Linked DNA regions of Homo sapiens: regions 1, 2, 3, 4, 6 and 7 are each linked to region 5. The links are contacts of gene promoters, found by promoter capture Hi-C in blood cells and fetal thymus (Javierre and others, 2016). All regions are on one chromosome and are shown on one strand. The core of a region is centred on a gene start or on the middle of the fragment in contact, and the rest is flanking DNA. Distances in the headings are between cores, read along the strand shown.

Region 1 (3,971 bases), core at 1,274-3,773, 790 kb after region 5:
TGAAATATTCTAAAAGTGAATCCTGCCATTTCCTGACAGGCGTCAGTCATTTATCTTTCCCATGATCTCTCTGAATGAGACTTTCCAAATCTAGTTAATTCCTATCTTTTAATATACACCACTGTAGTGTTGGAATGCTGCCGGAGATTTGGAAACGGGCTCAGAGATGAAGTTAAGAGGTCATTTTGCTGTTACTGTGCACTTACCACAAAAATGTGGCTTTGTGGTTATTCGACAAAAAGGTGTAATAATTACTTGCAGTGACTGTATAGAGGCATGTTTGAAAAACAGAATTTTAGAGGAAGGAAAGTCAATAACTTACATGTGTGCTGTGAGGAGGGAAATAGAACTAGAAATAGTTTGGAGACGGTTGCTTTTCATAGAGGAGTAGGATCAGACAGATGGGGGGCAAGTTGAAGAGTAAGCTCCCTGAAGGTTAACAGCTTCTCAGTTTTGTGGACACACACACACACACACATCTGAAATTTGATCCAGATTATAATATATGTGAAAAGCAAGTTGTGAGACAGTGTATATCCTTAGATTTCACAAGCCATAGGTAGAAGAGGCCACCACTGTGTTGGAACCCAATATTCTTTCTCAGCGGTGGGAGCAGGACCACCATGTGTACCATTCTATGGGAGCCATCTACACCACAGGCTGAGTGTCAGCCTTGGGTGGGAGAGACACTTATGTGTACATCATTTACACAAAACGATGGATAATTGCCACATTTCAAGTTACCTATTCCATTTGAAGTTGTGAAAGGTAAATGTTTTCACTTCTAAGAAAACTTTGCCCTTTTCTCTCATTTCAGAGGGAACAACACAGAGACTCAGAAAGGATAATCCACTGTCTCTGGTCCCACAGCAGTTGAACCCAGGTAGATAATCAGATCTGAATTGTTCTGTTTTTTTTGTCAACATGTTTCAGAAAGTTATGGTAGCCACCAACTGAGCTATTTCCTAATCCCCTTCTGCTAGAAGTGCCCCTATGTTTGCTCATTACGGTGTTGACGGTTATTTCACTTCTATACTTAGGGGGCCTTCGGGGATTCTACCGGCGACTTCTCAGAAGCCGTATTTATGCACTACCCAGAAGGAAAGGCCTGCAGTGTCTAAAATAGTTATAAAATGTCTGTGAGATTTGAGTGGGGTCTGCTTTTTTCTCCTTTCTTTTCTTTTTTACTCCCTCTGCCTTGTTTCATTTTATGACCACTCACTGGTAAACTGACGCTGGAACAGCAGGTTGAAATGCCTTTCAAGCGCTTTGATTGCCACCATGAAAACAAACTGCTTTTTGGCCTTGTGTAGACACGATGTCTGAGAATTATTATAGTCAGTCTTTGCTCATGATTCCATGAAACTCTCCAATTCTGCAGCAAGCCCCATATTGCAGCTTTTCCAATTCACAGCCCAGCATACATGCAAGATTCCTTGGAGTATCTTTAAGATTTTGGGTTCTATAAAACAGCTCCCGCTCATAAAAGCACACACAAACTTACCATTGTTGAGTGTTTTTTAAATAGAATCAGGAACGAATCTGTGACCTTGTGGCCCTGAGGTGGGAACACTATCTATAAAGTTGCCCAGACATTCTGCCTGTCAGTAGGACATTTTCATTGAACATAAGTATAAAAAAAGAAGGAGCCAGAATAGGCCAAAATTTTTTACATGCCACAGCTCACTTTATGCATTTTAAACCTTGTTAACATTTGCTAACAAGAAAGTTAAGAACTTTGAGCTATAAAAATAGGAATGTCTTGCTAACTAAATAAATATATGTGTGAACTTTGGGTTCTGCTCCTTGCTCTGGACCGGCTCATGATCATGCAAAAGGAAAAAGAAAAAATTAAAAGGAGCCTAGTTTGGGCTTGTAAAATCTCTAACAAGTCCTTAGAGTTTTCTTCCTTGCATGTTTCTCAGAGTTTCTGTTGATTGCATCTTTTAGCAGAATTGAAATTCACATGAGTCATTCAGTTGCTGATCATCAGTAGAATTGTGAAGATTCTGAAGTGTTTAGATTTACCTTTTAAATATTAGCAAGATCACACTAAGAATGTAGAAACAACAGAGAGAACTAAGTACTGACTGGATGGAAGCTTTAACTTTTGGAAGCAGAGTTGCCTGGGGCATCCTTCTCCATTGTCACTGTTCATCAATTTCCATCTGTGTGTATTTTCTGGGGACTTGTAAACCATTTCCTCTTTTCAGTTTCCTGTTTCCCACTCTAGTCGTCTTCACTTCCTTGTGGTAAACAGCTTCCTTGCTGGGCAGTAAACAGCATTATTGCTTTCTTTAGATTACATCAATTCATGGGCTTTCCCTGAGAAACTGAAGTTGCTTGAGAGTCCTCTCTCTCTGTCTCTGTCTTCATCTAATATGGAAGCTCAAAGAAATATTTAAAAAAAACTATTGAAGGTAATAAGCTAGAGGATAAAAAATGAAAATAAAGTTACAGTGAAACCCAAGACAATTTAGGTGGATGCATCTTTGGTAGAAAATTCCTGTGGTGGCTATGAATTGATTCACTAATAAAATTTAATTTTTTTCAGTGTAAAGTATGTCTCTAAGACCTCACTTCTCTGAGCTGGGAAAACAGTTCAAGCCATAGCAGTGTCAGAGTTCTGGGAGCTTAAGCAGTGCAAAAGCCTTTAATTCACAGACTCTTCTATATACTTTATGTAGACAAAGCAGTTGACGCTTATCGTTCTAGAAGGTAGGTACTATTATGTCTATTCCACAGATGAGAAGACAGACTCAGAGATGTCAAAACTGACCTCCCCAAGGACAAACAGATAATAAATATCTGAGCTAATATTTGAACCCAGGCCTTAGGCTCCAGAGTCCTTGTTTTAAGGCCTCCTCAGGCACTGTGAGAGAGATGGGGGGCTGTCTGGTCTTCATTCATCAGCCCACACAGGATGTGTCTCAGCAGCCCACCTTCTAAGCTTCTGTAATTCCCCTGGCCAGTGTCTCTGCTGTTTCTACGGTATGCTTGGGGTTCCATCAACCCTTTGTGAGGCAGCCTACAATTCCTCCTTAGACACACTCTATGGTTGCTTTTCTCTCTGCGGATCTGCCACCTCCCCACACTGCCGCCTATTGCATTTCACACACAATCTCATCTCTGCCTCCATCTCCTCCTTCTCAAGCCAGGATGGAAGTGGTTCCTAGGTGAGGTCCTTCTTCAGCACTCACTTGTGCTTTATGCTCATGAATCCTCTCACCTTCCAGGCCTTTGGAAATATAATCCAGCCTCCCTCAAAGGCGCTTGCTGGTTTTCATCTGACTTTCTTATGAAGAGACTTTCTTGCAGCAATGCAGGAGTAGAAAGAAGTAGATGGGGGTCTGATGTTTGCATTCCAGCTTCTAGTACTTTCCTCACATAGATATCCTGACTTTGTGGTTCCACAGTCTACCACCAGTGACTCCTACCCTCGATATGTCATCTCCAGTGACGATTTTGTCTAATGATGGGCCAGACCAGAGATTTACTATCTTAGAGCATTGCTCAGCCCTCATTTGCTTTGCCAGCCTGGGGTCTAGAGGGTTGCCACTTAGCAACCAAGCCCCATTTCCTGAATTTGTCACCAGAGTTAAAGGGTTCCCGCACATTTTTGAGGCAGTAGGTGGCTGCCTCCCTCTACTCCATGAAGCTTCCTGAATACAGAGAGGCTTAGAGAGTTATGAAGACTTTTAAAACCTGGGAATAGTCTCAGGCAGCAATGCCTGAATCCCAGGGAAGAGCTGTGTGGCTCTGAGATCTGAGCACAAGTTCCCTAGAAGTAGATCCAGAGAAGGGAATTTGGGTGTATATGATTCCCTGAGGGAAGTCTCTCAGAGGAAAGGGAGAGAGAAAGAAGCAGAGGAATGGAAGGAGCTAGGCAGCAATGTGATCTCAGCTGAAGTCCAGCCTCAGCCTGATCACATGGGAGGCTCTGGGCCATGGATTGTACCAAGTCTGTCTCA
Region 2 (3,894 bases), core at 446-2,945, 840 kb after region 5:
TTATATTTAAAAATATATTTATTGTATATGTGGAATTCAAATTGAACTTGGTGTCCAGTATTTTTATTTGCTAAATCTGGTAACCCTATATTACTAGGATGTACTGCATTTGATATTAAAACCATTCTCAAGGCTTACTTTGTTATCAGTCACAACAAAATATTAAGGGCTTTTTTTCTTTCTTTTTTTTGCATATTTCCACATATGCAAAAATGTCTAATGCCTGTGTTGCTCCTTCCTGGGTTTCATAAATTTCTCCGCTGCCTAAGACCAGCAACCTCAAATGTTGGAGAACTTTTAAATCAGTTATTTTCCAATGAAAAGTATTTCAGATTCAAATTGCCATTCAAGTGTTTCCTGTAGCTCTATACTAAAGCTTAATCGTTTTCAGCTCTAGGTTTTTAGAAGTGGAAAGCATGGTTTTGCTAAGTACAGCAAAGAGTTTCTGAGGACACTGGGAATTCTATACCTGCAGAAATGTAATATCTTCATTGACCAGTGTGCAGGGGAGCCGCAGGAGTAGCAGGATCCCAGACTTTGATGTCAGATGAGCCTTGCTGGGTTCTTGGCAATGGCAACAATTAATCAAGGGAACTTTGGCAGTTTGTTTATCTGTCATATAGTTCTTCATTCATTAAAAATTAGAGATAGAGAGATGGAGGCATGTTAGTATGCACTTTCAATAAGGCACCAAATGAAAATTAGTTGTTGTTGGATAAGATTTTGGCGTATTATCCAATATGTTGTTTGCTCCCAGTCAAGTTACCTATCTTGGCCACGACAGCTGAGGCAGCCATTGTCTTAGGAAGAAGGCAGATCCCCAGCAGAAACAAAAACAGTATTGCCTCCATCGCTCAGGTCTGAGTTTCAAAATAGACAACAGTATGCTATGCTAGTAAGTGTTTAGCTAATAAGCAACTCTTTAAAAAGAAAAAAGGCCATAATTTGTAGCACTTATGATTTCTGTGTTGTAAACATTCCCATCATGTCTGATTTCAGCCTACCAATGTGACATCACTGAACTCAAAGTTGACAGGACATGCACACAGGCCACTGGGCTCGGAGAGTGTTATTTTGGAACTCCCGGAGTTGGATTTTATTTTTTAGTCTTGGAAGAAGAAAGATTCAGGATATAATGTGATACAGTTTCCTGCTACCCAGCAGTGCATGCAAATTTTTCATATGCTGATAGGAGAATTGTGGAGTGATTCAGAGGAGATCAAACTAATAAGTGGCCCAGCCTATATGCCCTTATGATCTGGGTGTGGTGAGATAATGGAAACCTAGGTAGAAAGAAAACTCCAAACGTCTTATCGTGTTTCCTCTTTGAATTTCCTTAGATTAGAATAATTGTGTGCCATTGTTAGGCAGAGAAAAGGCCTAAGGTAAGACTTCTGACTCTCCAAGATCTTCTGGTAGCATGGAGAGGAGCTACAAAAACTTTAAGCCTCCATAGCTAAAGATGCAATATTGACTGGCATGTGGATACAACTCTGGAAGGCCCAGAGACCTCTCTTTTTGTATCTCTTTCTAAGGATCTTGCTAATTTTTTCAGTTCTCTCCTCTGTGTTGTGGGAGCTAGAGTCCTGCAAACAGCACTTCCTAGCCTGCTGTGCCTGCAGAGTTCCCACTTGTATTCCACCAATGAGAAGTGCTTGGTGAGGTTTGATAGGTGGAACAGAAGAATATTTCATTATGTTTCTGTGCCTTTGGGCAGAGTGTACGCCTCAGCAGACAGCAGACATGAGACAGACCCTTAAGAATCACCCATCTTAGTGCTGCAGGTAGATCCCAACTATGGCCAGATTCTACTTTCAGACCTTCTAATAGACACCCTTGTCCAGCAACTGCCTATACACTTCCAGTGATCAGAAACTCAATAGAACTAGAGACAGCCTCTTCTACACTGGACAAATCTAGCTCTTTTTGAAAGAAAATGAAACTTTTGAAAATATTTAATTATTTCTAAATATGTCTTTAAAGGTCACTTTATGCCCACATACTCTGTGTACTCCTTGTATTTAGTTCTGGGTAAGTTGGAAAGGCCTATTGTGATTTATTCATTGTCATTGACTTACAGCATAAGTTATTGTCAAGGTTTAAGAGGAGTCATCCGAAGGTTTAGAATTGAAGCGGCGTTCCTGTCTAGGATAAATACCTGAGTTTCATCATCTCACACCAGGAAAATAGAGGATGCAGACACACAAGAAGTGAGTTTAAGAGCAGAAGCTCAATAGGCAAAAGAATGAAAACGGAGAATAGCTTCCTCTCCTGCAGAGTGAGACATATGGCGGGGATGTGAAGCGGGGGATCTTCTGGTTCTGTGGCGAAATGCCTGGGGTTTTATAGATGAGCTTGAAGAGGCAGTATCTGATTTACATAGGACCCAAAGATTGGTTGGACCAGGTGTACCATTTACATAGTGTGCAAAGCTGGTCACCCCACCCTAATCTTTTATTATGCAGATGGGGTCTCTACCTGGCCGGCGCCATGTTGTCTGTTCCTTACTGTACACGTGGTTGTCAAGAAAAAGGAAAGATGGAGCCACCATGTTGAACATGCCTAGTCCCCAGGTAGCCTTTTCCTATTGACACAGCTGCTGACATTCACCCCTGCAAGGCTTATCTATGTCTGCAGCTCAGTTTCGCAGGCTGCTTTTTGTTAGAAAAGAAATGATTTGGGGGCTGCTTTTTATTAAAAGGAAAACCTTACCAACGACTCTCTTACCCTCACTATCTGCCTAAATAATTTCTTTTTAACTCCCTCCAATATTTTAGACTAATACCATCATTTGCTCCTTCTTTCTTATATTTAGTTATGCAATGCTTATTAAGGCATTGTGCTTACACTGGGGAACCAGTAGTCTCAGGCTTTCAAACAACTTTCGGTCTAACGAGGAGACATACAGGTCAACTAGGACCTAAAATACAGAGAATTAAGTGTTACTACAAAGCTAACACAGGTGTATTGGTAACACATAGAAAAGGCTCTCAACTTAGTCTTAAGGGAATATAGAAAGCTTCCTTCTGTGGTCTTCCAGAAGTATGGGATATGAGAGAAGTGAATAGAAGTTGAATGTAGGGTGGGATGATGGAGCCCTCACAGTTGAAAGCACTTGTTAGAAAAGGGTATGAGCCAAAAAGAATGTAGAACCCTGAGTGAAAAACAGCGTACCCAGCGTGGAAAGCCCCTCAGTGTCTGAAGAGGCCAGAGGAGCCACTCCACCAGTTCATAACTCACCACCCAAGGCCCAGTTGACTGACCAAGGAAAACAAGCGAGCAGGAAATAGATGATAGGCCTTGGCCTACACAGAGTAGTTAGAGGAGAAGTGAAATTTGTTGAAGAGCTGAAAAACTACAAGTGACTAGAAAAACAGCACATAGACTACCAGTAAGTTTAAATTGTGGTTCGACACAGAGTAAGGTAAAGTAGCAGAAAACAATTCCAGGTAATCTGAGAGTAAATTTTTTTCTCAAGGTCTCCCATGTGTTAAAGAGGTCAAATTTTATTAGAGGCACAGATATTTTATGTTGATTAATTATAAATGAATTGAGAACAAAAAAAATGTTATTTTTTTCAGCCATATCCTGTAATATTTTAAATCATTGACCCAACAATAAATAATACCATTGTTCTTCAGCTTTTTCTGACTGCCAAGAAACTCAGATTCGGGCAATTCATTAGGAAAGAAAAGAAAGGAAAAGAAAAGGAAAGGAAAGGAAAAGAAATATACACATATATATATTTTTTGAAGTTCCTATTAAGTCTTTTGTTTATATACTTGGTTTGCCAGAGCTGTACCTCTTTCTTTATAGAGCCTGGGGCCAGCAAGGAAGGTGCCAACTTTCCAACATTAAGGGAGGAGAACTGTAATTCCTGGGTGACAATCCAAC
Region 3 (3,819 bases), core at 885-3,384, 900 kb after region 5:
ATGTTCACAGTCTGTTCAGATATGTGCCAATCTTTCTGTACTCCTCGGTCAAACATACAACAATGTTTCTGCCATGGATGATCAATTTCAGGTCCTATGATATCCCAATAGCAGAGCAAAGTCAAAGAAACCTGACTTATTACTAAGAATATCACTGAGTGCTCTTCAGTCTCTTTCAGCTCAGGGCTTTTCAAACATTAGCACATGTAAGAATTATCTAGAGAGCTTATTAAAAAACACATTCCTGGGCATCAGCCTTATATATTCTCATTCAACAGGTCTTGGGTAGAACCAAGAATGAATTTCTCTACTCCAGAACCAGTTGAGGCTGATGCTACTACACAGTCTCACTTTGAATAACACTGGTCTAGTGGATAACAATAACTTTCTACCTGTAAGTTCAGTTTTGCCAAAGATGGAGGGTCTAGATCTTTAGTAGACATCACTAGAAAGCTTGCTTGAAGTGAAAGCTGCAGAACGCCAACACCAGAAATTCTTGTTTATCTGATAGTTTATGGGAGAAACTTTGAGAATAAGTGCTGGTCTCTAAATCGGTGAATGAGAAGCTTTGATGTATAGGTGAAGCGTTCCTGCTTTTTCCAACGAGGGTCTAGAAAATGTCTGAAGTTATATTACCTCCTGTCTCATAAGCTTGATATTTAGTCCTCTAGTTATATCCTCATCTTTATGACTCAACAAATATTTACTTCATGTCCACATGTACCAGATATTGTTCAAGGCAAAAAGCAAAACAAAACAAAACAGGAAATGTCCATGCACACATCAACTTACAATTCTCTTCCCAATTTCCACTCAGGAAACCCCAGTTAGCCAGGGAACTGCAAACCTCTACCCTCCTGCCTGCAACCCCTTTCCCTAGTATAGATCATAGGGTTAGCTCCCTTGACATCAACCACAGGGCATTATGCTATGATGTAGGCATCCCACCTGAGGACAAAGATTGTCCTGCCTAGAAGTCATAGTCTCATCTCCCACTCTCTTACAAGTGTTGACCCCTTGGAAACAGAGTTCATTAGGCCTCCTTGGACCTGATGATTTGGAATCCTGCCCCTTCAGATGGTAACCACTCCCTTATAAAAGGTTAATTCCAAGCAGTCAGCCCTTCATTCCCATCAAGCATTCCCAGCGTGAGCCTTGACAACTATGGCAATCTCAGACCATATAACCTCACCTGACTCTTCAGATTCCTGCTGTGGTAGAACTGATTCTGTTTCAAGTGGTAAACGACTGGGGGACCAGTAATTGCAGGAAGCAGTGTGAGAAAGAGTAGAAAGAAGTTATGCTTTACAGAGCATCAGAACTACTACCTGAATTTACCACTTAATATCTGTGTGATTGTACACAAGTTTAATGTCTCCATGTCTCATTTTCCCCATCCAGTAGAATTGCTCTGATCATTGATGAGACCAAGTTGGTAAAGTCCCTAGCACAGTGCTTGCTATAAAATAGGGATGGAAATGATTGGTCACTATGGTAATGTTATTGCAAAAGTAACCCAGTATTCCTCCTTTCCCTGTGTCCATGCTCCTGTGCAATGTCACCTGCAGTTCCTCCATTAAGAAGCCAAATCTACTTCTCCAACTCTTGAGTCTGGGCAGGTCTCCAACTTGACTTGGCCAACAGAATGTGGCAAATGTGGCATAAGCCAGTTTCAGGCCTTGGTCTCAAGAAGTCCTGTGTGTTCTGCTCATTCTCTGGGATTCCTGTCCGTATTGCCATATCAATATGAATAAGCCCAAAATATGAATAAAGCCCAAAATATGAATAAGCCCAAAATAGCCTGGTGGATGATACAGACCTCATGAAGCCCACTTGTCTTGTCCAAGTCCTCAGGTATATGAGTGAGCCCAAGTGAAACTGCAAATTGACCTTATTGATTTGCAGCTGAAAACAGAGGCATGAGCCAGCCCAGCTGAAATCAGCTAACTGGGCCTCTACCAGCAGGACCACCAAGCCAACCTATAAACTATTGAAAAATAATAAATGGTTATTGTACTAAGCCATAAAATTTTAGGGTGGTTTCTTATATAGCATTATGGTCGACATAGATAAACTTCACTGTTCTTTTCCCCAATTCCTTCAAATATTTTGTTCAATGTTATACATCAAAAATCAAAACTAAAAACTTCTGTGTCCCTTTTAACTCCTTTCTCTCCCTGTATCCCAACACAAAGCCAGTCAGTCACCAACCGAAAATGACTTGGATTCAAGTGTCCTGCAGATCTCCTGGCAAATTTTCTTCCCTGGGAAAGAAAGCTCTTCCCCATTCGTTTTTCCAGAGAAGCCAGTTACATGAAAAGTTCCTAATACCAGTTTATATCCAGCCTGCCTCGTGGGTTGGACAATTACCTGGAACAGAACTTCTTCTGGGTCAGATCACACAATAGCAATGGTTTCCTACTTCTCACTGAAGCTGCAAAGGTCTTTGGACACAATGTTGTTCAGTACTAAGCCCCTTATTTTGTTTTATTTTGTTTTGTTTAGTTTTGTTTTTAACCAGCTTTCTCAGGTTGAGGAAGGCCCCTGTTTCTGAACTGGACCCTGTCTCATGCAGAGGACTTGGTCTCTATCCCGCCCTTGTCTATTTCTTCCTCCTGTCATGCCCAGTAGCCTGACATCATGACTGTGCTCTTTACCACTATATCACTAACACTGGTTCATTGAAAGTACTTTTAAAACGTGTGTTTGATGGGAAAATAAATAAAAACTGGATAAATTAATATTCTTCCCACTGAAAACATCTTTCTCCCCTTTTCCATCTATTAAAATCAAACAATTTATGTAAAAGGCAGCTTAAGTAACAATCACAATGTATTATTTGCACCTCTCCAGGTGCAGATTACTTTTCTGCGTTTTTAATAGTTTATTGTCTATCTGTCTGATCCTTGAAATATATGGGTTAGTGCAATTAAAATATCGCAAAACCTGCAATTACTTTTACACCAACCTGTAGTATAAATGCTGAATCATATTCTCAAATGAAAATTGTTCCATGTTGAATTGGAGCCATAGTATAGAAACGTCTCTTAACTCTAGGCCGGGCACGGTGGCTCACCCCTGTAATCCCAGCACTTTGGGAGGCCGAGATGGGTGGATCACGAGGTCAGGAGATCAAGAACATCCTGGCTAACATGGTGAAACCCCGTCTCTACTGAAAATACAAAAAATTAGCCGGGCTTGGTGGCGGGCGCCTGTAGTCCCAGCTACTCCGGAGGCTGAGGCAGGAGAATGGCATGAACCCGGAAGGCGGAGCTTGCAGTGAGCCGAGATTGTGCCACTGCACTCCAGCCTGGGCCACAGAGCGAGACTCCGTCTCCAAAAAAAAAAAAAGAAAAAAGAAAAAAAAAAGAAATGTCTCTTAGTTCTAAACAAGGAGGAATAAATATAAAAGGCTAACTAACCTTAATATTCAAAGCACCACAAGGAGCTTGGAGATGTACTGAGCAAAAAGAATGAAAAGATGCCTCAGTCTGCTGTATACAATATAATGCTGTGTAACAAACTATCCCAAATTTAGTGGCTTACAAGACACATTTATTTCCTGTTTATATGTCTTCAGGTCAGCTGAGATTTGGCTGATCTAAGCTGGGCTCAACCAAGCTTAGATTCAAGCTGCAGTTTGGGTCCAGATCTTAACTATAGCTCTCATCCTTCTTAGACCAGTAGTTTCCAGAGGCAGGCTTTCCTCATGATAAAAGGCAGGAGCACAAGAAGTCGAGTTCAACCATATATCACATTTAAAGCTACTTTATGCAACATATCCACTAATGTTCCATTGGCCAAAGCACTTCACATGGT
Region 4 (3,893 bases), core at 1,365-3,864, 730 kb after region 5:
CTGTTGTGCAGAATAATTGCAAATAATTTATGTAAATATCTTCAAGGAGTTGGAACATAACTCTTCCACTCCTTAAGTGTGGGCTGTCCATAGTGACTTCTTTCCAAAAGTACAATACGGAAAGCAGGTGAAGAGTAAGTTTACCATAGAGAAACTTGACAAAAACTACCTCAGGCAGATCATTGAGATTAATATCAATACTGATGTTATGTTGATAACATGACATCACTTTTGGTATTATGATGAATATGACACTTTACATTTGTGGTCTTCCTCCCCGAAACCTAGAACTCAAGTCAAATTATAAGAAACAGGAGACAAATTCCAATAAGAAACTTTTCATGAAATACTTCAGCAGTACTCTTCACTGCTGTCAAGGTCATCAAAACCAAGAGGAGTCCAAGAAACTGTCACAGACAAAAGAAGTCTAAAGAATATGAAGACTAAATGCAATGTGTTATCCTGAATGGGATCCTAGACCAGAAATAAGACATTAGGTAAAAATTAAGAATATCTGAATAAAGTATGAACTTCAGCTAATAACACTGCATTATTATTGTGCATTCATTTAAACAAATGTACCATGTTAGTATAAGATGTTAACAATAGAAGAAATTGGGTATGAGAAATATGGGAACTCTGCCCTAGCTTTGAAACATTGTTGTAAATCTAAAAATACTCTGAAATAAAAGTTATTTTTAAAAACATAATTCAACAAAGACAGATTTACCAGAGGTAATAAAGAAGACTCAGAAACAAAACAACAGGCATGAGTTATGGTCATAGCTCTGTCTCAGCCAGAAGCTTTTTTTGGTCTCACTCATACGTCTGTGGACTCTGTGAGGAGAGGCAGCTCTGCTGATTTTGGCTGGAATCTATCACATTTTTGGCATTGCCTGGCTATAGGCTGGTCTAGGATGGCCTTATCTGAGACAGTTGGGCTCTGGCCCACCCCTCCTCTTATCTTCTAGCACTGCTGGTCTGGGCTTGTTCACATGGTGTTACATGGGTTAAAAGAGAGAGTGGAAGTACACACGATTCCAAAGGCCTGGAATCACAAATAAAACATTATCACTTCCTCCGCATTCTGTTGGACAAGGCAAGTCACCAAACTAGACTAGACACAAGTAGAGTGGGGTGTGTCAGGGGTTGGGGGGAAGCAGAGTAAGTGAAAAGAGATTCCATTTCCTATAGGAAAGAGTTCCAAAGTCATATTGCAAAGGCATGAAGCATTGGAGACATTTTTGCAGACAAACTACCACACTTTTTTAAGATGAACCAGAATAGGTCAGATTATCTTTTTATGACAATTCTTGATATGCTTTTATTTCTAGGCCATAATTTCTGCCTTGCATTCATACATGTATCAACAAATATTTATGAGTGCCTTAAATGTATTAGGCTCTTTCACCTATCTTCTTAGAACTTACAATTATATATTATAATCAAAAGTGAAATGCTAGATTCCTTTATTTTGGGACATTATTTTTGAACACACTTGGCTAGGAAATAAGCCACAATTTATTTATTTTTTTGTCAATGTTCCTTGAACCATACTAGACATTCTGGTATAAATTCTAACTAGTCTTTCCTTAGGGATAAATATAGAAGAACTTCAGTTACTAACCAACTGACATATGTAACTGTGGGGGCAGAAAAATTTCAACTTCCTCCTCTTAGGGTTCCAGCAGAGCCTAAGAATTAAATTGACATAGATAGATAAAAGCATGCAAATTTATTTAACAAGTTGTATGTGTCATGGGGACCCTCATAAAGAAATAAAGACCTCCCCAAAGCAATTAGAGTATATTACTTATATACCAGATTGAACAAAGAATAGTAAACTGTGAAAATGTGGCTAAACTATGTGGGGGACCGGTAAAGAGGAGTTATTCTAATAAGGTCTGTATAGTATTCTCTCAGTCCCAGCTTCTCATTCTTGAAGACAAACATCTTGCCTTTTCTTCGGGTATAGGGAGAGTGTCTTATACAGGAGTTAAATCTTTTGCTTTTAGGAACAACATGAAGGCCAAAGTCATCTTTTATCACCAGCTGCTATACAAATGTCTTTAACTTAATGAGTCAATAAGCCAAAATAAGGTATTTCAGCCTCTTCATAACATTTGAGCAACAGTACTCAAAGTGTGGACAGACTGTGGACCAGAAGCTTCAGTATTACTTGGGGGCTTGTTAGAAAGGTTAGAATATCAGACCCTAAACCAGTCCTGCTGAATCAGAATCCCTGTGGGTGGAACCCAGGAATTTGCATGTTTTCTAGTTCTCCAGGTAAAGCTGATGAGTAAAAGTTTGTAAACCACTGGTTTATGATCCAGTTTTTCAACGCTTTTTCATCATTAAGAATAAAAGGAGGCCAGCCGGATGCAGTGGCTCACACGTGTAATCCCAGCACTTTGGGAGGCCGAGGAGGGTGGATCACCTGAGGTCAGAAGTTCAATACCAGCCTGGTCAACATGGTGAAATGTCATCTCTACTAAATATACAGAAATTAGCCAGGCGTGGTGGCAGGCGCCTGTAATCCCAGCTACTCGGGAGGCTGAGGCAGGAGAATTGTTTGAACCCGGGAGGTGGGCGTTGCAGTGAGCCAAGATCACACCACTGCACTCCAGCCTGGGCAACAGAGCAAGACTCCATCTCAAAAAAAAAAAAAAAAAAAAGAAGAATAAAAGGAGTTGGGTATTTCTGTATCACCATTAAATGAAGTAGTGACCATGATGCAAAAATATAACTTTATACAAAAGTTATATTTTTGAATTAAAATATTTATTCTTATTCTACTGTATTCTGAATATTAGGCTTTCAATTTATTTAATTCTGCATTACCCCAGTCCAGAACATACTATTCTTTGTTCTGGATATTAGGCAATGGCTTTTGAGCAGAAGAAATAAAGATTAACTTTGACCTTGATATAACACAAAAGTATAAAATTCACCATGGATATTTCTTTTCATGTTATTAATGTTACTCTTTTTAGCTGATTTCTTAGGTTGTTTTATTAATTCTTTGTATTGAAAGATATAATAAAATGGGATTTCATTACCTCAAGCTTTTTCATTTTTGCCCTGATATTCATTCTGTCTCATTGCATTCAGTCAGCCTCATTTTTCCCTCTATCAGCTCTCAACTTTTTGGACTCAGTGTTCGTCCATCCTCACACTTTCCATCTTTCTTTTATCTTTAAACAAACAACTCATTTTAATTGCCTGTGTCTTGATTCTTTTCCTTTTGTTTCATGGATGTCACTTTCTCTCTCTCTCTCTCTCTCTGTCTCTGTCTCTCTCTCTACCAAATCTGACTGCAAAAGCCCTCAGATTTCATGCCCTTGAGTTTGTGGGTGAGCTGACTGTTCAGGAGAATCAAGACAATCTTATTCCAGGTGGTGATTCGGGAATCCAGTCTGCCTGCACCTTTATCTTTGCCATTTTATCATCCATCATGTAGGAAAAGAGAAGAGAGAGCCAGAATGTCTCTCAGTGGACTTTACTGTTTGCATTGAACAATGTCTGGGGTTGTCCCGTGATCCCTGCCTCCAGGCTTCACAATTCTTCCCCCTTGAGTGTGGGAGAGCCGGGGACTTGCTTCTAACCATTAGAACACGGCAAAGGTGAGGAAATGTACATTGTTTCGTGTCATTACATTTCATAAGATGTTGAAACTGCCTTGCTAGAAGACTCTCTGGCTTAGAAGAGGTAAGCTCCCATATCACAAGCTACATATGGAGAGAATTGTACAGCAAGTTGCTGAGGGAGCCTCTAGCTGACAGCCAGCAAGAAACTGAGGCTCACAGTCTGGCAGCTGGCAAGGAACTGAATGCTGCCAACAACCATGTGAACTTGGAGGAGGATCTTGTCTGGGCTTTTCAAGCTAGCACGTT
Region 5 (3,838 bases), core at 1,283-3,782:
GAGCCACCCCAAGCTTCATACACAGACACAGCCAGATAGTCTCCCCTCTGTCTCCTCCCAGAATCACAACCTAAGCCGGCGGACAGGAGGCAGCAGAGTGCACCCCATTAGAGCACGTGGTGGAAAGCAATGCTCTGGGGCACCGAGCTCCCCCTCTCACCACCCACCCTCCCAGCACAGGCTAGGCCAAGCCCCAGTCTTGGCAATGAGTCATGCCTCCTGGACAGCAGGAGCCAGGCAGAGGGCACACCCCCAACATTTCCCTTTCCTCCCCTTCTGCAATCGCACCCATCTTCCTTCCACCCATTTTGGGATGTTGCAAGGGCCTCGCTGCAGGATCTGCCAGCTGGGCCCGGGCCTCGAGCTCCTTTGGGGGCGGAATGGGGCGGGGGGATGAGGGCCTATCACTTACACCCTCAGGCACTACCTCCAGAAGACCACCCCTTCCAAGCCTTGGCACGGCCCCCGAAGGCTTGCGGGGGCCGTGCACCCGCCCTTCCCGGGGAAGTCTGCAAACACAGCTGTTCCAGAGCCCGGGAACCGCTGGAAGTGAGGCCACAAGAGCTACACCACTCGGGGGCGGGGGCAGGAAGGGGCCAGCAGCGGGCGGGGGTTCCCAGGTCTACAGCTCCTGTGAGGGCCCCAAGAACCTCCTCCTGCGGCGGCCGCCCCCGGCCCTTAAGCCGAACCTGGAGAGCGCCCCCGCACACACTAAAATCTCCCGGGGAGCAGCGGGAAACGGACTCCCCCACACCCTCCAGGAAGGACACACCCGCCCTCCCGGCCGTTCACGGGAAAGGGGAGGTTGCCAATTTGGACGGCGTTCGCAGGCCAGAACTGCGCCGAGTCGCCTTCCACGGCGCACCAGGTTTAATTAGTTAAGCAAAGAGATCAGCTACAACGATCTCTTGGCTTGGGGCCGGGAGAGTTACTCTGGGAACTTCAAGTTGCAAGTTTACACCGGCCTTCCTAGGAGCCTGGTCCCATAAACCCTCTGGGATCCCCACTTTTGTGCACTAAGCAAATAGCAGCAGGAATGGGACCCACCTCGACTACCCCAGCCGAGATCTAACTATAGTGTCCCGGCTCCCTCACCCGCCACCCCTAGAGATTTCCCCAGTTAGCGCCTAGTTTCAAGCCAAAGCCCTTTAAATCCCTCTCGCAAGGGATAACAGGGCTCGGCCAGGCGCGGGTGTGAGGCTCCGCCCGGCCTCCTTCCCGAGTAGTCACTCACCGGCCAGGCGAAACTGAAAGGCAGCACGATGCGGTTGCGGTCGTTGCCGCGGCTGGCCTTGAGGTTGAAGGTGTTGCCCCCGATGACAGGCGTGGACCCTGAGCCGAAGCTGCAGGGCCCCCCGGCCGTGACGCGGGACTGATACTCCTTGAGGCACACTTTGAAGTATGTGTCACACTCGTCGCGGGTGCACTTGCGGTCTCCCGGGTTCCGGGCGCCGCCGCAGCAGTTCCCGTTCTGCAGCTCCCCGTTCACGTTCTGCATGGACAGGATCTCCAACTCGAACTGACCCGAGGCCCCACACACCTGCCGGCGAGGGAAGGAGGTAGGTCAGCGCGGGAGAAAGCTGTTTTCTTCGAGTATAGAGGTGGCGACTCCCTCCCACTCCCCGCCCCGACGAGCCCTCCTCGCCGAGTGAAAATAATTTTGCGAAACTACGTTCAAGGACTCAACATGATTCCGGGGCAAAAAAAAAAAAAAATGCACGAGTGCGGAAGAAATCCGACGACTTCCCGGGGGGCAACAGCGGAGCGAACGCGCCCCTGTCCGGCCTGGAGGGGTCACCCTCAGGAGGCAGGGGCTCCCGTGGGGGAGTTGGCGCGCTCAGCCCAGGTGCAGCCGCTCGGGCGCAGGGGCGAGGAGTCGGGCGCTCGAGGGCTGCCGAGCCTGCTCGCGGGGCTCAACCGCCCAGGGCGCCGCGAGGGGAGGGAGAGGACGGCTGGGAGGGAGGCCCGGAGAAGGGCTCCTACCTTGGCTCGCAGGGCACAGAGCAGGGCGAGCAGGAGGCTTAGGGGGCGCCCGGACCGGCCGCGCGTCCGTGGGGAACGCATCGCTGCGCCGCGCGCCGCGGGCACTCGGGACGCCGCCGCTGCTGTTCGCGCTGGTGCTGCCGCCGGTGCTGCCGTCGCCGCTGCCCCTGCGGCCGCCGCGTCCCGGCTCTAATATACTCCGCCGATTGGAGCATGCACGACTGGAAAACAACACCACTTTTCAAAAGCCCTTTCAAGAGCGGCCCGTTCCAGAAGGCAAAGAGCCCGGCCTCCTTTTATTATTCTGATCGCTTCTTTGAGACGCTCCCCCTCCTCTTCCACCTCCCGGCTTTCTTTCCTTCTCTCGCGCTCCCCTTCTTTTATTATTATGATTATGCGCAGCCTTTTATTCCCTTTTAGATCAGCTGCATGGAAAAAGGGGGGAGGGAGGGGAGAAAAAAAAAAACCAGCCTAGCTCGCGGGCCGGCCGCAGGTAACACAATGACGCGTGCCCGCCCGGCTCTCGGAGAAGGACCCGGAGAGCCCGTCTGGCAGCAGCGGCCGGGGCTGGCCACCTCTACCCAGCACGCCGGGCAGGGCGCATGCGCGCTTATTAATATTCATGAGAGGGCGTGCTCACCCTGGGCACGCCCCTCCCCTTCACGTTGCTGGGGAGGGGGTAGTGCGAGGAGGAACTTGGAAGGGGTTGGGGGCAGCGGGATGCTCAGGGCGGCGTAGAAGAACCAGGGCCCCACACCAACCCCCGCCCTCGGGAGCTTCGGGCCAGGAGGGAAGGGAGAGTGCGGGGAGGTACTTGGAAGGGATCGTTGCTCAGGGACGCCTGGAGGCCCCCAGCGGGGACCGCCCCCTCGGGCGCCCCGGGCCGTGCGCCTTTGCCCGCGCGTCGGGGCCCCAGGTGTAGGCGCCGCGGCGCTGACTGAGCGGTCGGAGCGGGGCAGCTTCCGCCTTCCGAACCGCCTGCGTCAGCTGCGGCTTTCGCCCCGGGAGGAGGGCCTGCCTGCCCGCCGGGAGTTCGGCCCGCTTCCCGCGAGCGAGCCGCCCAGAGCGCTCTGCTGGCGGCAGAGGCGGCGGCGAGGCTGGCGCGCTTGCCGCCGTCTGCTCGCCCCGCGGAGGCGACCTGGGCAGACGCTGCTGGGAACTTTGAAAAACTTTCCTGGAGCCAGGCTTGCCGCAGATTCGAGGGGAAGCCTCGGCCGCGTCCCACCCCCTCCCAAATCCGAGTCTGCGGAGCCTGGGAGGGCTCCCAGCTTCCTATCCAAACCGCGCCGGGGCAGAGGCGCGGGGAAACCGGGGGTAGAAGGCGGCGGGCACGCCGGGGCCCTGTTCAGGCTTTGGGAAGGGCCGGCGGAGATGCTGGTGGGCTTGGACGCCCTCCCCGGCCCGACGCCCCGGCCGCAGTGCCGGGATTGCACCTGTAGGCGGCCTCCGAGCAGCTCTCTGGGTGGCAAGAGATGGGCCTGGGAGGGACCGTGTCCCCAGCACCGCCAGCCGCGGAACTTGCCTTCTCTGGGGTGGCAGTGGAAACCGATACTGTTTTCCACCTTGAGGCAAGCCTCGCAATTAACAGCTACACTCCTGGTCATAATCAAGGTCGAAGAAAGCCCGTGGGCTGGCCGTAGCCTCTGCTAACCCCTCTCCCACGGGCTTGCTGTTGCATTTGAGGGGACCTTTATATGGAAACATCGACTTCCTTTGAAGGGTGGACAAAGTTTTGGCCCTAATAGTAGGTATGTCCTGCAGAAAAGCGTGACTATTCAGCGGCCGGTTTGGGGCTTGAGTTCTCCTGGGTGTGGGGCGTGATGGGCTGGCAATAGGTCAAGGGAAAATAGTTTCC
Region 6 (3,479 bases), core at 210-2,709, 860 kb after region 5:
GCTCTTATGCCAAGTGGAAACATTTAGGCACAAAAGTCACGTGTGATTAATGCCCAGAACTGGCAAAATTATTGAGACCTAAAACAGATCAGTGGTGGCCTAGGGCTGGGAATGGGCAATAAGACTGACTGCTAAGGAGCAGGAAGAATGTTTTGGGGTGAGGGAAGGAACTGAAAACCAGATTGCAGGGATGGTGGCTGTGTGACTAAAACTCATGGGACTATACACTTAAAATGAAAAAAAAAAATATGCTATGTAAATTATCACTCAAAATAGATGCTTTACAAAGTTAAAAAAAAGACCTTTGTTCTAAAGGAAAAAAGAGAATATGATTCTGGTAATAACAAAGATACAGGATGGTGGAAGGTTTTCTATTTTACTATTTTTAATAGGATATATTCGAGTGTACTTATAGGTTAGGAAGAAGAAGAAGGAGAAAGAGAATCAAAACGCAGACAACAGAGCAAATAATGGAGAAAATGTGGGGTGGGAACAGGACCCACAAGGCAAATTTTAGAGGTGGAGCTTCAGCACAAGATGCTCCCTCCTCTGCACTGAAAGGGATAACATTGATGAAGTTTTTGTTGTCTTTTCAGTAAAAAAGAAGCAAGGCTACCTACTGCAAGTGACATCAGTGATGAGCAGGTGGATAGGTGAGAATGACATTTGAAATATCCTTGTGGGTTACTGAGAAAGCAAGCAAGCTAGTTGTGTAAAATAACTTTCAAACCAAAATGAAGACTCATTGGAGATTGGAAACCACAATCTGTAGCAACAATGGTCTACAGAGTTAAATGATTTTCTCCAGGGGCATTTATCAGCTACATTTTTTGTAAGGGTATAATGAATGGCTAGATTGATGCTAATTTGCAAGGCCATGAGGATGTTGAAGCAACCAAAAACAGAACATAAACACTGCACTCTAGAGAGGTGGGCTATCAAAGGAAGGAAAGAGTTCACTGAAGAAAAAGAGAAGGGTTGAGGAATTGAATTCTCAGGGTATCCAGAAAACCTATGTATAGGGAGCAAGGGAAAAAAAGAAAAAAAACATGCAGGGATAATTATGGTCAGAAATTGAAAATTGAAATTTAGGATTTCCCAACAAGTGCCCAGGTCTGGAGTATGATCCTGAGAGAGAGTGGCTCAAGGGGTTGAATGGAGATTGTTGGAGTATAATAAGTCAGGAAGCTTTCCACATGGATAACAAAGACAACCAGGATGATTGTTCAGCCTAAAAGGAGTGAAAAGAAAGACAGTAAGTCAGGTACCAATGCTTGAGCAACAATGGAGTACAACAGCTACATGGAGGACCTCAAGGAAGAAATGCTTCCTAAAGGTAGAAGCAAAAGGATCTATAGGTAATAAAAGGCATCAAGACCTTTGTAAACATTTCTCAACCTCCCCTTGTCTCTTGACTCTGCTAGTTATGGTTACCTGGCCAGATCAGCAAAAGAATCAGGTGTCACTAAAAAGCAAGTTGAACAAGATTAAGAATTGCTGCTAAACGAAATTATCATGAGAAATACACTGGAGACGGTGCAATAAAAGAATTCAAGTCAGCCACAAAAGTGTACCTGCCCAAATGCCTAGGGCCAAGACAAAAATCAGGATGGGCACAACAGAAAGCAATCAAGATACCAGGGCCAAATCAAAGAGAGTAGCTCCTTTTAATTCCAATTTTTATGTACATGTATACTTAGGGGAGCTCCCTATTGAATTGGCTGTGTACTACAAGCTTAATGGCGTGATAAATAGAAAGATGCAAAGAGGCAAGAATGGATGAGCAGGGGTCGTTCTGGGCAATGTAAAGGGACCAGTTCAAAGCCTGTTCCAGAATGACTTGGCCCACTAACCGTGGTAGAGAAGACCATTTGGAGTGGTCAAAGCACTGGCCATTGACTGCTCTGCTTTGCATTTGCCTGTGAGCACAGCACAGAAGTCTTTGCAATAGATGGCTCATCCTCATTCTCAGAATGTTTCCTGCCTTACTTTCTTCTCTAACAACAAATGTTCAATGCTTTCCAGCCCCTGTTGTGTGTTACATTAGGGCACCATGAAGACGCTTCTTGTTTATTATCTCTCTCCTCTGTCTTCCTGCTCCTTATTCCCCTTTCTTTAAAGGCAGACTCTTTCTTGGCAATTTTTTTATCTCCAAGCTTGGAGCCCCTCCCTATTTCCTCTGCCTCTTTACTCCTCATATGTACTTTTAACAAATCTATAGGGTGCCTTCAAACTAAGATACTTTAAAAAATAATTGCTACATTCCTCTAATCTTCCTGAGCACAAATTCTAGGCATCAGCTGCCTGACTATACACAGAAAGTTATTTTAGGGTGCAAATTTGGGACCATTGTGAAATTCCAGTGGCCATGCACAGGTTTCCTCACAGCTTTCTGATATTTAAGTTTTTTAGGCAGGATTGTCTGAAGCTGTGTAGCTTAAGGGCCTTTGAGTAATAATTATCATCATGGCTTTACCTCTAATGCCCACTGTAAGAGCAAGATCATCTGAATCTTTCTTTCTATAGAATAGAGAGCACAAAAATAAGCAAACTTGAAGAGCTGTGATCATAAAAGCTAACTAAATACTGCCATGAAACAGCTAGGATTTGGATGCAGAAACAGAGTGCCAGAGAAACACTAAACAAAATGACAAACCACAGTTAGGATCTCAGGAATTGAGAAGATGGACCTGTCTGGCAGCTGAAAACATTGATGTCCATCATTAATGCAGAGTCAGGACTTCCCAGAGACGAAATTCTTCTGCAGGAAAAAGGGTGCAACCATCAGCCTCTGCCCTTCCTCCATGTGAGATCTCTTTCTCAGTCTCCAGGGAAGCAATGTCCTTTTGCTTCCTACTAAATACCTGGACCTCTCCATCCCTATATTACCCACTCCAGAGCAATTTGCACAGTGCTCCACACTTTCCCCTAATTCCTTCTCTTCAAATTCTGTCTTGGCCGGGCGCGGTGGCTCACGCCTGTAATCTCAGCACTTTGGGAGGCTGAGGTGGGCGGATCACCTGAGGTCAGGAGTTCGAGACCAGCCTGACCAACATAGTGAAACCCCGTCTCTACTAAAATACAAAAATTAGCCGGGCGCAGTGGCGGGCGCCTGTAATCTCAGCTACTTGGGAGCCTGAGGCAGGAGAATCGCTTGAACCCAGGAGGCGGAGGTTGCAGTGACCCAAGATCGCGCCATTGCACTCCAGCCTGGCAACAGAGCGAGACTGCCTCAAAAAAAAAAAAAAAAAAAAAAAAAAAAAAAACAAATTCTGTCTTACGTGCAAACTTCCAGGATTTAGCTGTCCGCTGGATGACGATAGATAGTGAGTGGATTAATAAAAGCTATACTCCTAGCAAAATGTTTTGTTAGATCTCAGTAGCAATGCCTCAACTGTACAAATGTGCAGACTTTCATAATTGCCCTTAAGTATTCACTAATCCTGGAAATTTCAAGCAAAGTAGCTATCTCTCTGTGT
Region 7 (3,925 bases), core at 746-3,245, 880 kb after region 5:
TCCACCCTTTCAAGCTGTGTGCATTCTCTTTTGGAAATCATGAAAACATCACAGATGGCCTTATGATATAAATAATTAGTGAAGAAGACAATTATTGCTCATCTGTGATGAATCAAGCTTCTTTTTATTTAGTCAGCAACAAGCTGGACATAGTCATTACATAGCCCTAGGGTCTACGCAGCCACACAGATTATAAGTTTGTCCTGTATTTTTGCCTCATGGGGTCATGTGCTAAATATTTATATGAAATGTCACTATCATATACTCTCAGACTATCAATTTCTATGTTAATATTTTTCTTGGCAATTGCTCTGCAGGCAAAACTACAGCCTATATGTGTAATAGCTTCACATGTCAGTACTTTTCTTAATGTCTCATAAAAAGAAATTGTTCCTCTGACAATTTAACTAAGATACCCAAAAGAGCCAAACAAGTCTTTCAACATCCTCTTTAATGACTTCTTGTTGTTTTTATTCAGTTTTATGAAAACATCTAATTTCATCACTCTCTCTGACTTTTATTGATTTAAGCTGGCATGATTACCCTTTATAACTCAATAAGTTGGCTTCAGAAGTACACACAGTCATATGTCACTTAACAACAAGAATACATTCTGCAAAATATATAGTTAGGCAGTTTCATCATTGTGTGAACATCATAAAATGTACTTACATAAACCTGGATGTATAACCTATGACACACCTAGGCTATATGGTAGAGTATATTGCTCTTAGGCTACAAACCTGTGCAACATGTTACGTACTGAATACTGTAGGCAATTGTAACATAATGGTAAACATTTGTGTATCTAAACATATCCAAATATAGAAAAGGTACAGTAAGAACACCGTATTATAATCTTATGGGACCACTATCATATGTGTGGTCCATTGTTGACCTAAACTTCATTATGCAGTTCATGACTATACATAAAGATTTTCTTAGGTAGGATGATCAATAGAGAGCAAACTGGACTAGGAGTCAGAGAATCCAGCTATCTTTTTGTATCTGCTTTAAATTGTTTAACGACCAAGACAAAATTACCAAACTTTTAACTTTGTTTAATCAACTTTTGAGAAAATGATTTTTACATTATGATTTCCAACATCTACTTTAGTTCCAAAGTTTTCTGACTCTGGGAGCTTTAATCATACCTCATTGGACCAAATACACATCTGCCTTTGAAAAAAGATTACTAATTAGCATTTACATTAATCAAAGTGTGATCCTTGAATTAGCAATATCAACATCAGCTGGGCATTTATTAGAAATACAAATTATAGGCCCCATCCTAGATCTACTGAATCAGAAACTCTAGGGATGGGGCTCAGCAATTTGTTACCTGTCAAAGTTTGAGACCCATTGATTTATACAAGTCAAAAACAATCGTCATGGTAACAGGAACTGAGTTTTACCGACAAGAGCCAGTAGTCCTCCAAATTACTCAATGTGGTTTGCCAATGGCCACCCAAGAGCTTTTGATTCAGTATATTTGGAACAGCTTCCAGGAATCTATGTTTTAAACAAACAATAGAGAAAATTTCAAGGACCAACTTTAGACAGTGATTACCTAAAGACAGTAACTGAGTTGCTGGTCTGCCCTCCTGGCAGGTGTCACAGAGTGAGTACTCTAGACCTAATTAATGGAGGAAGGAAAAAAAGGATGGGGAGGAGATAAACAGAGCAAGAGACAGAGATGCATGTCATGTCAGTGTCATTTCCTCAAGGCTGGGAAGTCTAGAACAGTATCAGTGCTCCCATTTGTTGCATGTGATTACTACAATATCAACTCTTACTGGAACAAACTACAAAGAGTCCTTGAGAACAAACGTCCTGAGTATTTTTTATGTTCAGTCAATCCTTGGTATCCATGTTTTCTGCATCCCCAGATTCAACTAACTGTACATTGAGAATACTCTGGGAAAAAGAAAATAGAAAATAACAATACAACAATTAAAAAACAATACAAATAAAAAATACTGTATGACAACTATTTGCATAAGATTTACATTGTATTAGATTATTATAAGTAGCCTAGAGATTTAAAGTATACAAGAGGGTGTATATAGGTTACATGCAAACGTGATCTCATTTTATTTAAAAATATTGAGTATGCATAGGTTTTGATATCTGCAGGGTCCTGGAACAAATCCCCCACAGATACCATGAGATGTCTGTATTTTTGCTTAAGTGACAAGATGAAACAAGGCAACACTATAACATCCTACTCACTATGGAGCAAAGGATAGGCTATATTGGGTATATAAACAAGATAAGGGTCAACGAAAAAAAGTGTATAAGCCTCTATTCTCCCTCATCTCACAGAAAGGGACACTATTCCTGAGAATAGCTACTGCACATGCAGTAGGTTTGCATTTTAAGAGAGGAACACTGTTCACCTCATTTCTGCTACTCTATCTTCTTATAGTACAAGTGTGAAAGTGCACATATAATTGAGAAGAAAAAAATTGGAATTTACTCAAGAAAGTATATGAATTTACAGAATGTGATAGTTTTCAAATATGTTCACTAATTGTCATTCCACTTTTTTTCCTTCAACTTTTATTTTAACTCAGGGGTACGTGTGCAGGATGTGCAGGTTTTTTACATAGGTAAACGTGAGCCATGGTGGTTTGTAACACAGTTCATCCTCATCCTGTTAGCTGGGTATTAAGCCCAGCCTCTATTAGCTATTCTTCCTGCTGTTCTCCCTCCCCCCACCTCCCAACAGGCCCTAGTGAGTGTTGTTCCCCCTCATGTGTCCATGTGTTCTCATAATTCAGCTCCCACTTATAAGTGAGAACACACAGTATTTCTGCATCAGTCTGCTGCAGATAACTCCATCCATGTCCCTGCAAAGGACATAATCTCATTCCTTTTTATGGCTGCATAGTGTTCCATGGTGTATATGTACTACATTTTCTTTATTCAGCCTATCATCAATGGGCATTTAGGTTGATTCCAAGTCTTTCCTACTGTGGCTATATCACTCCCCTTTTTTTTTCTTTTTTTTTTTTGAGACGGAGTCTCACTCTGTCGCCCAGGCTGGAGAGCAGTGGCGATCTCGGCTCACTGCAAGCTCCGCCTCCTGGCTTCACACCATTCTCCTGCCTCAGCCTCCGGAGTAGTTGGGACTACAGATGCCCGCCACCACGCCTGGCTAATTTTTTGTATTTTTAGTAGAGACGGGGTTTCACTGTATTAGCCAGGATGGTCTCGATCTCCTGACCTCGTGATCCACCCAAAGTGCTGGGACTACAGGCGTGAGCCACTGTGCCTGGCCGTCACTCCGCTTTTTAAAATGTGAAACTTAAGATCCCTCTTTTTTAATTTCCAGGCTTAGTGGCCCACTCCTATAAAATAGAATGTGGTGGATGATTGCAGAAATTAGGTCACAGAAAGCATTTCCTTCTGTGAAATACTTCTGTGAAAGGCTTGATTGCTTCTGCAGAGATTTTTCACCCATTTGGGGATGCCAGCTCCGATACTGTGGGAAAATGCAGGCAGTCTGTGGGAAGTTTCTTATGGAGAGGTACTGAGGCCACCTGCCAACAATCAGGCACAACCTGCCATCCATGTGAATCAGCCACTTTGGAAGTGGATCTTCCAGCTTCAGTCAGTCTTCAGATAACTAATAACAAGCCTTCAGATGAACTAATATCTATGACTTCTAGGAAAGATGACCACTTGCCTCCGAAAACCTTTGCACAGTTGCAGCAAGTGGGAGGACTCCACAGGAAGCGCTAGAGGTTAGATGTGGGCAAGCTCTGCCGCTGGAGTACAGGCAGTGCCTGGTCCTGCCAAGCCATTGTCAGGCAGTCAGAAAGAGCTCCCAGGATCATTCTAAAAATCTTGCTTATCACTTCACATATAGCAAGCTTCAGTCCCAAGGCAAACACTACCAAACCCTACTACTTTGCCTTGA

Evidence for each region. The method cuts DNA at HindIII sites, captures the fragments that hold promoters and counts their contacts. A CHiCAGO score of 5 or more calls a contact.
Region 1: a fragment that was not itself captured here is called in contact with the fragment with the promoter of JAG1 in region 5 in 2 of 17 cell types (endothelial precursors and erythroblasts); the score reaches 5.7 in endothelial precursors.
Region 2: a contact is called between a fragment that was not itself captured here and the fragment with the promoter of JAG1 in region 5, in 1 of 17 cell types (erythroblasts). The highest score is 5.1, in erythroblasts.
Region 3: a contact is called between a fragment that was not itself captured here and the fragment with the promoter of JAG1 in region 5, in 1 of 17 cell types (erythroblasts). The highest score is 6.2, in erythroblasts.
Region 4: a fragment that was not itself captured here is called in contact with the fragment with the promoter of JAG1 in region 5 in 1 of 17 cell types (erythroblasts); the score reaches 5.3 in erythroblasts.
Region 6: a contact is called between a fragment that was not itself captured here and the fragment with the promoter of JAG1 in region 5, in 3 of 17 cell types (megakaryocytes, erythroblasts and endothelial precursors). The highest score is 8.4, in megakaryocytes.
Region 7: a fragment that was not itself captured here is called in contact with the fragment with the promoter of JAG1 in region 5 in 2 of 17 cell types (erythroblasts and megakaryocytes); the score reaches 5.4 in erythroblasts.

Annotation. Positions count from the first base shown.
Region 1 is chr20:11,457,482-11,461,452 of GRCh38, forward strand. No RefSeq gene overlaps it. Among named protein-coding and RNA genes, the nearest start is that of LINC00687, 410 kb to the right of the region's middle. The HindIII fragment of the contact is 849 bases long and covers 2,100-2,948 here.
Region 2 is chr20:11,515,412-11,519,305 of GRCh38, forward strand. No RefSeq gene overlaps it. Among named protein-coding and RNA genes, the nearest start is that of LINC00687, 350 kb to the right of the region's middle. The HindIII fragment of the contact is 2,643 bases long and covers 375-3,017 here.
Region 3 is chr20:11,574,678-11,578,496 of GRCh38, forward strand. No RefSeq gene overlaps it. Among named protein-coding and RNA genes, the nearest start is that of LINC00687, 290 kb to the right of the region's middle. The HindIII fragment of the contact is 2,970 bases long and covers 650-3,619 here.
Region 4 is chr20:11,403,059-11,406,951 of GRCh38, forward strand. The region is part of intron 1 of LOC105372529 (a long non-coding RNA gene); the gene reads right to left. Among named protein-coding and RNA genes, the nearest start is that of LINC02871, 380 kb to the left of the region's middle. The HindIII fragment of the contact is 898 bases long and covers 2,166-3,063 here.
Region 5 is chr20:10,671,467-10,675,304 of GRCh38, forward strand. It overlaps JAG1 (jagged canonical Notch ligand 1), which reads right to left and starts at 2,533. Exons shown (of 26, transcript NM_000214.3): 1 at 1,984-2,533; 2 at 1,235-1,540. The coding sequence starts at 2,064. RefSeq lists a silencer at 2,756-3,155. The HindIII fragment of the contact is 5,598 bases long and covers 12-3,838 here.
Region 6 is chr20:11,533,675-11,537,153 of GRCh38, forward strand. No RefSeq gene overlaps it. Among named protein-coding and RNA genes, the nearest start is that of LINC00687, 340 kb to the right of the region's middle. RefSeq lists an enhancer at 3,300-3,479. The HindIII fragment of the contact is 547 bases long and covers 1,187-1,733 here.
Region 7 is chr20:11,555,043-11,558,967 of GRCh38, forward strand. No RefSeq gene overlaps it. Among named protein-coding and RNA genes, the nearest start is that of LINC00687, 310 kb to the right of the region's middle. The HindIII fragment of the contact is 3,761 bases long and covers 116-3,876 here.